Linked DNA regions of Homo sapiens: region 1 is linked to region 2. The links are contacts of gene promoters, found by promoter capture Hi-C in blood cells and fetal thymus (Javierre and others, 2016). All regions are on one chromosome and are shown on one strand. The core of a region is centred on a gene start or on the middle of the fragment in contact, and the rest is flanking DNA. Distances in the headings are between cores, read along the strand shown. Region 1 holds the start of MYNN (myoneurin). Region 2 holds the start of RPL22L1 (ribosomal protein L22 like 1).

Evidence for each region. Contacts are between HindIII fragments. The CHiCAGO score rates a contact against its expected background, and 5 or more counts as called.
Region 1: the fragment with the promoter of MYNN here is called in contact with the fragment with the promoter of RPL22L1 in region 2 in 1 of 17 cell types (neutrophils); the score reaches 7.0 in neutrophils.

What each region holds. Positions count from the first base shown.
Region 1 is chr3:169,769,306-169,775,047 of GRCh38, reverse strand. MYNN (myoneurin) reads right to left here and starts at 1,652. Exons shown (of 8, transcript NM_018657.5): 1 at 1,586-1,652; 2 at 487-783. The coding sequence starts at 752. TRV-AAC1-1 (tRNA-Val (anticodon AAC) 1-1) reads right to left here and starts at 2,818; the gene lies at 2,746-2,818. ACTRT3 (actin related protein T3) reads left to right here and starts at 5,487. Exons shown (of 2, transcript NM_032487.5): 1 at 5,487-5,727. The coding sequence starts at 5,528. RefSeq lists enhancers at 1,553-1,847, 1,486-1,989, 1,563-2,112, 3,003-3,102, 5,263-5,407 and 1 more, a cis regulatory region at 5,335 and a silencer at 5,349-5,418. The HindIII fragment of the contact is 7,916 bases long and covers 1-2,989 here.
Region 2 is chr3:170,868,740-170,874,644 of GRCh38, reverse strand. RPL22L1 (ribosomal protein L22 like 1) reads left to right here and starts at 4,450. Exons shown (of 4, transcript NM_001099645.2): 1 at 4,450-4,486. The coding sequence starts at 4,478. RefSeq lists enhancers at 3,286-4,011, 4,012-4,738, 4,908-4,957. The HindIII fragment of the contact is 15,380 bases long and covers 1,555-5,905 here.

The sequences.
Region 1 (5,742 bases), core at 403-2,902, 1.1 Mb after region 2:
GCCAGCATGGTGAAACCCTGTCTCTACCAAAAAATACAAAAATTAGCCAGGTGTGGTAGTGCACACCTGTAGTCCCAGTTACTAGGGAGGCTGAGGTGGGAGAATCGCTTGAACCCGGGAGGCAGAGGTTGCAGTGAGCCGAGATTGCCCCACTGCACTCCAGCCTGGGTGACGGTGAGCCCGTCTCAAAAATAAAATAAAATAAATTCATTGTGTTTAATGTTCAAGTTTACATAAGTGAAATCACAGGCTTTGTTTCAGTAAATAAACGTGTCAGAAATCTTACTGTTTATTATCTGTGCTTATGAAAAATATTGCCTGCTCATCCTAAATCAGTGATACTGATTTCTTTATAAAAACAAACATTGTGTGCATAAATAGGTGAAGAATTTGAGTTCAGAGAATGAATGGAAAAAATACAAATCTACTTTTGCTGTGAAGACTACTGACTAGCTTTTATAACTGAAAATAAAATGTGTACTTTACCTGTCAAGATTTAAAGTTCCTGTGTATATAAACTCCAACAGTTTCTGAAATCCATCAGCCTTCACCTGACTCTGATCAAGAAAGACATTGTTCTCAGAAGTGCTTCTGTAGATCGCACCAAAATACTCACTAAAGGAGGCCAGCACATTCCTATGAGCTTTAAACTGGAATTCCCCAATCACTATGGTACAGTCACAGAGAAAACCTGCTTCCCGCTGTTTGTTCAGTCTCTCTAAAAGGTGCTCACAGTGGTGCGAATACTGCATTTTGATATCAGAATGGAATTTTACCCTTGATCTAAAAGACAAAAAGAAACAGTAAATCAGTAACCGTAAGTTCTCATCAACGTTCAGTGAGGGAAGGGACAGAGGACATAACTTAAACAATTTTAGCCCCCTTGAAAATCCTTATCAAACATACATGGTTAAGAATGAAGGGATGAGTGCCTTTCTATCTTTGGTTACCTTGATCAACTAACACAATCCTTTGGACACATCAATAAGTGACGGTGAATGGCAACACTTCTACCACCTGCAAAAAGCACAGCAAAACCTGACGCTTTCACATCTGTTGAACCCTCAGATTTTCAAGCTCAGTAGACATACTTATGTTACAAAAAAATTTTTTAAACCACTAAGACATGATCTCTTGGGACAGATAGGGGCAGAACAGTACGAGTTTTTAAAAACTGCTCTCAAGTCACCAAAACCTGTTAGTTTCCCCAGTGCAGTTTCTCCAAAACGAGAGGTGGCTGCCCAGAAAGCCGGGAATGCGCCCGGCCATGGCTTGCTGTCAAAGGTTCTATCACTCGCGCTAAGGAGGCCACACCTTCTCCCTTCCCACTCTCTACGCGAGGCGGCATCCGAGAGTGACAACCAAAGCCAGTCCCTCCTCGGCTTCTGCCGCCCTGCCCTCTGCCCAGCTCCCACTCCCGCGAATTTCCACAGCAGAGGTTGTGGCCCAGGCCACCCCGGGGCTGCCTAGCCCAAGCCTTCCACCTGCGCCCCGACCCGTGCTGGAACTCCAAGGAGCCTGCCCTCTGATGGCCCAGGCTCTAGAGAGACCGGGATGGCGGGCTGGGGGTGAAGTAGGAACTCACCGATAGCAACCCAAGGGGGGAACACAGTTTCTTCACTCTGTCTCCGCCATCTTGGGAGGACGTCACCGAGCCACGCTCCGCCCCTCCCTTCCTTCCACGGTGGCGTCACGTCCGGCTCTGTCTTCCCGTGGCAGTGCGGGAGGTTCTGGGGCCATGGGGGTCCGGCGCCGGCCAGGGCGGTACAGGATGTACCACAGAGACCCACTCCCCAGCATGCCAGGGGTCCCCCGAAGCAGCAGGCGTCATGGATACGAGAGCTGAGGGCTCGCTAGCTCGCAGCGCTCCGCCTGTCTTCCTCATCGCGAGCATTCTGGTGCCGGCAGTCAGCGTCTGGCGCTCTGCCGGGGCTCTGCGCCGAGGCCCGGCAGCACAGCACCGCGGGCCTCTCTCCTGAAGCCAGCTGCGCACTGCGTGCGGGGGCTTGTAGTTGCTTGTCTTCTCCCATCATCCTCCCCTTCCTCGGGGCCCCACCGGTGGAAACTGCTGCATGTGTACTCGGATCTCTGCCATAGGGGATTTTTTAGCTGAGACTTGGCACCCCTTTCCCGCTTACGTACCTGAAAACTCTTGGCACCCCCTGGTTTTTTTGTGCCCCAGCCAACTGTAGCTCAGCTTCCAAGATGCCCTTACCTGGTGACAGAAGTCTGGGATGCACGAAAGCGGAGCAGCTGGGCACAGTGGGCATGCGCAACATTAGAGGAAGGTGGGCTTTATACCGGAAAAGGTTTTCCTGCGTCTGGACCAGAAGATTTTTAATACGATTATTTACAGCCACTTCAGACGAAAAACCAAGTGATATAATACAAAAATGCTCAGGAGGCGACAGGACTAACCACTTTTACACTTTGATCTTTCCTTCTAGGCTGTACATTATTTTTTCAGTGTTAGCTGGTGAGTCAAATTCATTTTTTAAAACCCGGGACACATGTTCCACGTGGCAAGGCTTCCATAAAAACATTTGGTGAACGAATAAAGTAACAAAAACTTACAGTTCAGACTCTCAAATTGCTATCATGTCTTTTGAAGGACCGGCATACATTAAGCTAAGGCTTCCCTCAGAAAAAAAAACAAAACAAACAACAAAAGAAAACAAAGCGTGATCTCACGCTTTCTTCCAAGCGAAGGAAAAAAAAAAAAAAAAAAAAAGGGATTTTTTAGTGTGTTTCCGCCCGGTTTCGAACCGGGGACCTTTCGCGTGTTAGGCGAACGTGATAACCACTACACTACGGAAACCCCACTTTGGAGAGGGTTTTGTAAAGTCCTTGATATGTAAGTGTCAATTCGCAATTCTCAAGTGATTATTATCAAATTGAGAGGAATGAATATAATGTATTTAAAGAAAAAAACAGAAAAGGAAAAATAGCCTATGCCCAATTGAACAGAGCTGAAACCATTTCAAAAGCTTGAATCTGCACGCACTTTCTTCCAAAGTGCCCGGGTACCGCAGTAGAAACCAGGCACTCCCGAGTTGCCCTTCCTTTGGGTGGCCTTTTTTTTTTTTGTCTCCCTGGAAAGGCGTTTTATTACACATCCTTTCCGCAGGTTGAGCTGCTCAGAGTCCGGGGCGAAGCAGGGGGCTTTCGTTATTCAGCCGCGAAAAAGCCATCCTTTCAGCTTCTGGTGGAAGGACGTGTAAAATTACTTTTGAATTTCCTCTTTTTGCTTCCGAAGACCAAGCAGAAGTTCTAAATTGACTGCTTGTTTTCAAATTCTCTACAGATGTATGCAGAATCAGACACCAAGATGCGTTTATTGACATGCAATGTACTTTCAAATTTTTCCAAACTTGAATTTCATATGACCTGATAAACTTCACTTTTCCTGCAAAAAGACAGGCACGTCCTTCAGCCTAAAAATCAAGAGTAGCGAATGAGGCTTGCAGATTACACCAGAAGGATAGAAATCGAAATATATATATTTATATTTATTATATATAAATATAAATTTTTATATATTTATTATATATAAACATAAATTTTTATATATTTATTATATATAAACATAAATTTTTATATATTTATTATATATAAACAAATTTTTATATATTTATTATATATAAACATAAATTTTTATATATTTATTATATATAAACATAAATTTTTATATTTATTATATATAAACAAATTTTTATATTTATTATATATAAACATAATTTTTTATATATTTATTATATATAAACATAATTTTTTATATATTTATGATATATAAATATAATTTTTTATATATTTATGATATATAAATATAATTTTTTATATATTTATGATATATAAATATAATTTTTTATATATTTATGATATATAAATATAATTTTTTATATATTTATGATATATAAATATAAATTTTTATATATTTATGATATATAAATATAAATTTTTATATATTTATGATATATAAATATAAATTTTTATATATTTATGATATATAAATATAAATTTTTATATATTTATGATATATAAATATAAATTTTTATATATTTATGATATATAAATATAAATTTTTATATATTTATGATATATAAATATAAATTTTTATTTATGATATCTAAATATAAATTTTTATTTATGATATCTAAATATAAATTTTTATTTATGATATCTAAATATAAATTTTTATTTATGATATCTAAATATAAATTTTTATTTATGATATCTAAATATAAATTTTTATATATGATATCTAAATATAAATTTTTATATATGATATCTAAATATAAATTTTTATATATGATATCTAAATATAAATTTTTATATATGATATCTAAATATAAATTTTTATATATGATATCTAAATATAAATTTTTATATATGATATATAAATATAAATTTTTATATATGATATATAAATATAAATTTTTATATATTTATGATATATAAATATAAATTTTTATATATTTATGATATATAAATATAAATTTTTATATATTTATATTTATGATATATAAATATAAATTTTTATATATTTATATTTATGATATATAAATATAAATTTTTATATATTTATATTTATGATATATAAATATAAATTTTTATATATTTATATTTATACATATAATAAATATAAATATAAATTTTTATATATTTATATTTATACATATAATAAATATAAATATATATATTTCGATTTATATCCTTGCTTAAATATATAAATATATATTTTATAAATATATAAATATATTTATATAATATAACATATATTTATATAAATTATATAAATTTATATATTTTTTAATATTTTATATTTAAATTTATATATATTTATATAAATATATATAAATTTATATTTATTTACATATTTAAGCTAGGAACTACTATTTTGTTTTAATTGCGTACATTTTGCTTGGAAATCACAGGAAGAAACACAACAAAGCATTGCCCAAGGTACAGAAACAATAATAAACGTACTTAAAACTCATTTAAATTCCAGCATTTTTCTCCTTATTTTAGAAGTTTAACATTTCAGAAGCAGACACTGCCTCCCTTCCTGCAACAACTTTCTCCTCTTAAGTCTCATTTTTCCCCAGTTTCAAGGGCGAATTCTAGAACTCCCCGGAACCGCCACCAGTTAACCAGAATTCCGTGGCTTTGGAAAATAAAACTGCTGTTATAGCTCTTCTGGGTATTTGAGAAATGCACTTGTGAAGGGTTAGAGTTGAATCTTTTGATGCGAAAGTCGGGTTTTCCTGATACTGGGATTCCGGGATTCCAGGTGTTGGGGTGGCCCAATTCCTGCGAGAAGCAATAGCGGGCGGTAACATGAGGAGCACGGTGCGTCCAGCGAGTCCTTCCGCCTGGGGCCCTGCCGACCCCCTGCCTGCGCCCCCAGGACTCTGGCCTCACCCGGCCGTGCCGGGGCCTCTGTGACGCGGCGTTCCAGGCACTCGGCCCCGGCCGAGCCCGTAGCTAGAGCGGCTCAGAGACAGGAGGCGGCGGCAGCAGCGGCGGCATGAACCACTGCCAGCTACCGGTGGTGATCGACAACGGCTCGGGAATGATCAAGGCGGGCGTGGCTGGGTGCCGGGAGCCCCAGTTTATCTACCCGAACATTATCGGCCGCGCCAAGGGCCAGAGCCGCGCGGCCCAGGGCGGGCTAGAACTCTGCGTGGGCGACCAAGCTCAGGACTGGAGGAGCTCGCTGTTCATCAGGTACCTCCTTCTCCC
Region 2 (5,905 bases), core at 3,201-5,700:
ATTTCTTTTGACATATAAGCCTTCTTTCTAGGGTCATTTTCCTTCTTCCTAAAGTATATCTTTCAGAATTCCTTTACTGAAGAGCTCTTGATGGCAAACTTTCAGCTTTGTGGCCTAAAAATGTCATAAATGCATCTTTACTCTTGAAATGTATTCTTGGTTTTGTTTTGTTTTTTGTAGCTCTAGGTAGACAGTTATTTTCTCACAGTGCTCTGCAGATAATATTCCTTTGCCTCCGGCTTCCATTGTTGCAGATGGAAAGTCAGCTATTAGTATAAGTCATTTAGTAAATATTTTGTCTTTTCCTTCTCTGGGTGCTTTTGAAATGACTTTGTGTTTTGAAGTTTCACTACAATGTATATAGGTGTGCATTTCTTTAAAATTATCCCTCTTGGGGATTCCTGTATCTGGAAATTCAGCCATTATCTCTCTAGATTTTGCCATTTCCCCATTGTCTCTATTACATCCTTCTGGATCTCCTGGTTGACATATCCAGAAAACTTTTATTCTGACATCCTGGTCTCTTAACCTGTTTTTTATACCTTACATCTATTTGCTTTTCCACATTGCATTCTAAGTAATTTCCCACTCACTGATTTCTCTTCAGCTGTTTACTCTCTTGTTTAACTCATCTACTTTTTCTAATTTCAGTTTTTCTCTTTTTAATGTCTAAATGTTCTCTTTTGTTTTTTTGTTTTTTTTTTTTTTGAGACGGAGTCTTGCTCTGTTGCCCAGGCTGGAGTGTAATGGCATGATCTCAGCTCACTGCAACCTCCACCTCCCCAGTTCAAGTGATTCCCCTGCCTCAGCTTCCCAAGTAGTTGAGACTACAGGCATCACCACCACACCCAGCTAATTTTTGTATTTTTAGTAGAGACGGGGGTTTCTCTATGTTGGCCAGGGTGGTCTCGAACTCCTAACCTCAAGTGATCTGCCTACCTCAGCCTCCCAAACTGCTGGGATTACAGGCTTGAGCCACCGTGCCCGGTCTCCTTTTGCTGTTTTTCAAAAAAAAAAAAAAAATCTGATCAATTTTGATTGTCTCTGACTTCCTTATCATATCCTAAATACTTTTAGTTTTTGCATATACTACAAATACTTATTTTATATTCTGCATTTCATAATTCCAACATATAAAGTCTCTGTGAGTCTGATTTCATAGGTTTTTGATGTTGATTTTCATCCACGGTGGCTTGTTTTCCTGTATTTTCATGATTTTAAAAAACTGTCAGCTCTGCCGGGCACGGTGGCTCACACCTGTAATCCCAGCACTTTGGGAAGCCAAGGCGGGCAGATCACGAGGTCAAGAGATCGAGACCATCCTGGCCAACATGGTGAAACCCCGTCTCTACTAAAAATACAAAAATTAGCTGGCATGGTGGTGCGCCTGTCGTCCCAGCTACTCGAGAGGCTGAGGCAGGAGAATCACTTGAACCCTGGAGGCAGAAGTTGCAGTGAGCTGAGATCTTGCCACTGCACTCCAGCCTGGCGACAGAACAAGACTCCATCTCAACAAAACAAAACAAAACCTGTCAGCTCATATTTCTTGAAGCTTATCTCAGGGAATTATTTGTACCTGGATCTAAAATGCATTTCTCCAGAGAGTATTTGCCCTTGCTTCTGTCTGGTGTTAATAATACAAGCACACTTTAAACTACATATTCAGTTTGGAGCTTTTTCATGCTATCTGAGCAGAGCTAATTCAAGTTCCAAACATGTATGATCATTGCTTGTCATTTCTGCCCCTAAAAATTATTTTACTTTTCCACCAGCTCAACCATACATTAAAAAATTATTTATAAAACTGTATTTTAGGCCGGGCACAATGGCTCACACCTGTAACCCCAGCACTTTGGGAGGCCAAGGTGGGCGGATCAGTTGAGGCCAAGAGTTCGAAACCAGTCTGGTCAACATGGCGAAAACCCTAGTAAAAATAGAAAAATTAGCCATACCTGGTGGTAAGCGCCTGTAATCCCAGCTACTTGGGAGGCTGAAGCAGGAGAATTGCTTGAACCAGGGAGGCGGAGGTTGCAGTGAGCTGAGATTGCGCCACTGCACTCCAGCCTAGGCGACAGAGCAAGACTATGTCTCTAAAAAATAAATAAATGCATACATAAAAATAAAACTATATTTTAGCCATTGGTAAGGTAGTTACATATGGAGGGGTTTTTCTGTGTTTTTTTGCTTACTGATCTGTTTACTAAGGCTTCAGCATCATGTAGATCCAATGACTGAAGTTTATAATATATTAAATACATATCTATCATCTATTATATCTTATATTGGAAGAGCTGGAAAGGCATACTCCCTTTCATTGGTCTAGAGTGTCTTGGCTCTTTTCAGACATTTATTGTGTCATACGTTTTAGAATTAGCTGTCAACACAAGCCATAAAGAACAAAATCACATACTTTGCAGCAACATGGCTGCAGCTGGAGGCCATTATCCTAGGCGAATTAATGCAGGAACAGAAAATCAAATACTGTACTTCTCACTTGTAAGTGGGAACTAAACATTGGATACTCATGGGCATGAAGATGGCAAAAATAGACACTGGGAATACTAGAAGTGGGGAAGGGTTGAAAATCTAATTATTGGGTACTATTTTCACTACCTGGGTGAAGGGATCAATCGCACCCCAACCCCACCATCATTATATATATTCATGTAACAAAACTGTACATGTACCCTCTGAATCTAAAATAAATGTTAAAATTTTTTTAATTAGCTGTCAAATTTTTAAAAAATAACTATAGGGTATTGACTAGCATTGTGTTACTATATACGTGTGCACACGCACAGTTTGGGAAGAACTGAATTATTTACAACTTTTAGTCTTCCCATCTGCACATTTCTCGCTAATATTCTTGTTTTTTTTTCTAATTGACAAACATTTTTCCCCCATTACAGTTTCTAACTAGTTATTTGGTGATTACTAGTTCTTGTGAAACAGGTATGTTTCCATATCCTCCTTGTACAAATGGCTTAATAGTGCTTAAGGAGTTTATTGTCAAGACATGGAAGACTGCTAAAGACAAGCAAAATAGAATCATTTCTGCCCCTCAGCTTAGGCAGCCCTTGAGGAGGAAATGCCAATTGCTCCCTTTAATGTTTGGAAAGAGAAATGTGATTATTGTAGCTCTTAAGGCAGACAACTAAAAAATCTTGTTGAAATGGATTTCTTCTAGGAATTCAGGGCCTCTCTTCAGACTCTACAAGTCATATGCTCTATTAAAGCATAGTTTCCACGATAACTACTTGCTGGCATAAAGGCCACGAACAGTTCTTACTTTCTGGGGTCATTCTTCAAATTAACAACAAAGTCCACCCCATCCCTTACCCCTACCCCTAGGTATGATAATTTCATCTCCACGAAAACATATTACTGCTAAACCCAAGCGGTTCAGCATGCCACTTTTCGGATCTGATGTCAATTTACAATCCTTCAAAGCTCAAAAGCTACTTTTTCCTTTTGTCAGCAAGACACTTCCACCCTCGTGTGTCTTGTACATACTGATAGGTCACAGCAAACATTCATTGAATTTTAACTGGGAGCATTTTGGATGGAAATCAAGAGACCTGGGATTAACTGTAAAACCCATGATAAATTATACCAAACGAATGAACAAGAAGCAAGCACTACGTGTTTTTCCCTTTGAGACAGTCTCACTGTTACCCAGGCTGGAGTGCAGTGGCTCGATCTCGACTCACTGCAACTTCCGCCTCTCAAGGTAAAGCGATGCTCCTGCCTCAGCCTCCCGAGTGGCTGGGAGTACAGACGCGCACCACCACGCGGGCCATTTTTTTTAAAATTGTTTGTAGAGACGGGTTCTCCCTATGCCTACGCTGCCAAGGGTGGTCTCGAACTCCTGGGCTCAAGAGATTCTCCGGCCTCGGCCTCCCAAAGTGCTGGGATTACAGGCGTGGGCGTGTAAGCATATATATACATGATTTTTTTTTCCCGAGGACCTGGTCCCCGAAGCACCAATTTCCCTCAACAGTCATTTAGAAAACGAGGCTCACAGACAAAACACAAACAAATAACTTTTTCGCTGGAGGATTATAACTGCAATAAAAGGAGATCCCAAAGCAACCTGAGACACTGCCTTGCCCTGATTGGAAAGGGGATTCCGGTGATTAGTGAAAGATGACTCCTGCATCCCTCGCGTGCGTCCGTATCCGGGAGCAGCCACTAGGTAACTGTAGAGGCCACTGCAATTAATCGGCTTGAACAGCCAGGAGCGGAAACCCGAGAGTCAGTTCAACCACAGCCACCCGCGTGTGCCCGCGGAAAGCCGATGGCCTACTCTCGTCCGGCAGCGCACTGGTTTCCTGGGTTACCGGCCTCAGCGCTCCTCCCGCTTTCTTTTCCGGGAGGCGACAATCTGACGCTCTCAGCGCGTGACGCAGCACGCTTTGATATAAATGCAGACCGCGCGGCCGTAGCTTCCTCTCTGCTCTCGCGGCCGACTCGCAAGATGGCGCCGGTGAGTGAGCGATGTCTTGGTGGGAGTGTTGTGTGGCAATTTAATGATTTCCGCTGTAACGATTTTTGCATCTGTCGAGTGGAGACGTCTCAGTCAAGATAAAGGGAGGGGAGTAGTGAAGTCTGGGTCAGAAACACAACCAAGACGCGAGGATCCTGAACTGTTTTTCGAGACTCCCTGGCAGCTGCCATGAGGTCTAGTGGAGTTGGAGCTGGGCCCGGAATTGGTTTAGGATGGGTGGTTTTGGACACGCGGGAAAGAGGGAGGCACAACTGTAAATGGGCCGGTGGTACTGCAATCTGAGCCATTTCTTTACTATCTCGCGCCTGATAATGCTTTTGCCACTCAGCACTGGGTAGGGGAATGGTGGGTAATCGGGCCGGTCTGACGACCTTTGCCAGGCCAGAGGGAGCTCCTAGGCGCTCAGCTCCCGCGATGGCCGACATCACAAGTTTTTGAGAACTTTCAGTTGGGGAAGAAGTTTCTCGGTGAAGTAATTTTTAGAAAAGTATAAGTCTAGATTCCAGCAATGTGAAATAAACGTGCTTCAGATGTTTTACTTAAGTCATTAGTAAGGGAACCAGTAAGATGTTAAAATGTTCCTAAGAATATCTGAAAAGCTAGATATACATGCGCAATTTACAAATAAAGTTAGGATAAAATTGCTGGGCTAGCTACAAAACTGGGTAATGCCCAGCATGGCCATAAACCCTATAGGGTTATCTGTTCCATTAGACAGAAGTTGTTTGTGTCTCCCAAATTAACTTCTGCGCCAACTGGGTAATTATCTTTTGGCACATGTTACCATGCTACCTGAGAAAGCAAACTAATGTGTAATACTTGGTAGCCACTTGGGTGAATCTAAATTGGAGGTTATAGTCTGATAAATACAGATTTGTTTGTTCATATTGCAGTGAATGTACATGGTTGCTGGCCACAGTAACATTTTGCTTATGTAGCCATATTATATGGTCTTGGTATAAAAGGTTTGGATATGGAAAATTTAAGTTCCACGGTGTTGGTTTTTAGGTTTTTTTTTTTTTTTGAGACAGAGTCTGTTGCCCAGGTGGGAGTATAGTGGCATGATCAGGCTCACTACAACCTCCGCCTCCCGGGTTCAAGCAATCCTCCCGACTCAGCCTCCTGAATAGCTAGGATTATAAGCATGCACCACCACACCTGGCTAATTTTTGTATTTTTACTAGAGATGGGGTTTCACCATGTTGGCCAGGCTGGCCTTGAACTCCTGACCTCACGTGATCCTCCTGCCTCAGCCTCCCAAAGTGCTGGGACGGCACCTTGCCTTTTTTATTTTTATTTTTTCTTTTTCTTTTCTTTTCTTTTTTTTTTTTTTTACCAAAGTCCCCTTCCCTTGCCTATAATAACGTAAGAATTGAATTTTCTAGACATAGGTGGGTG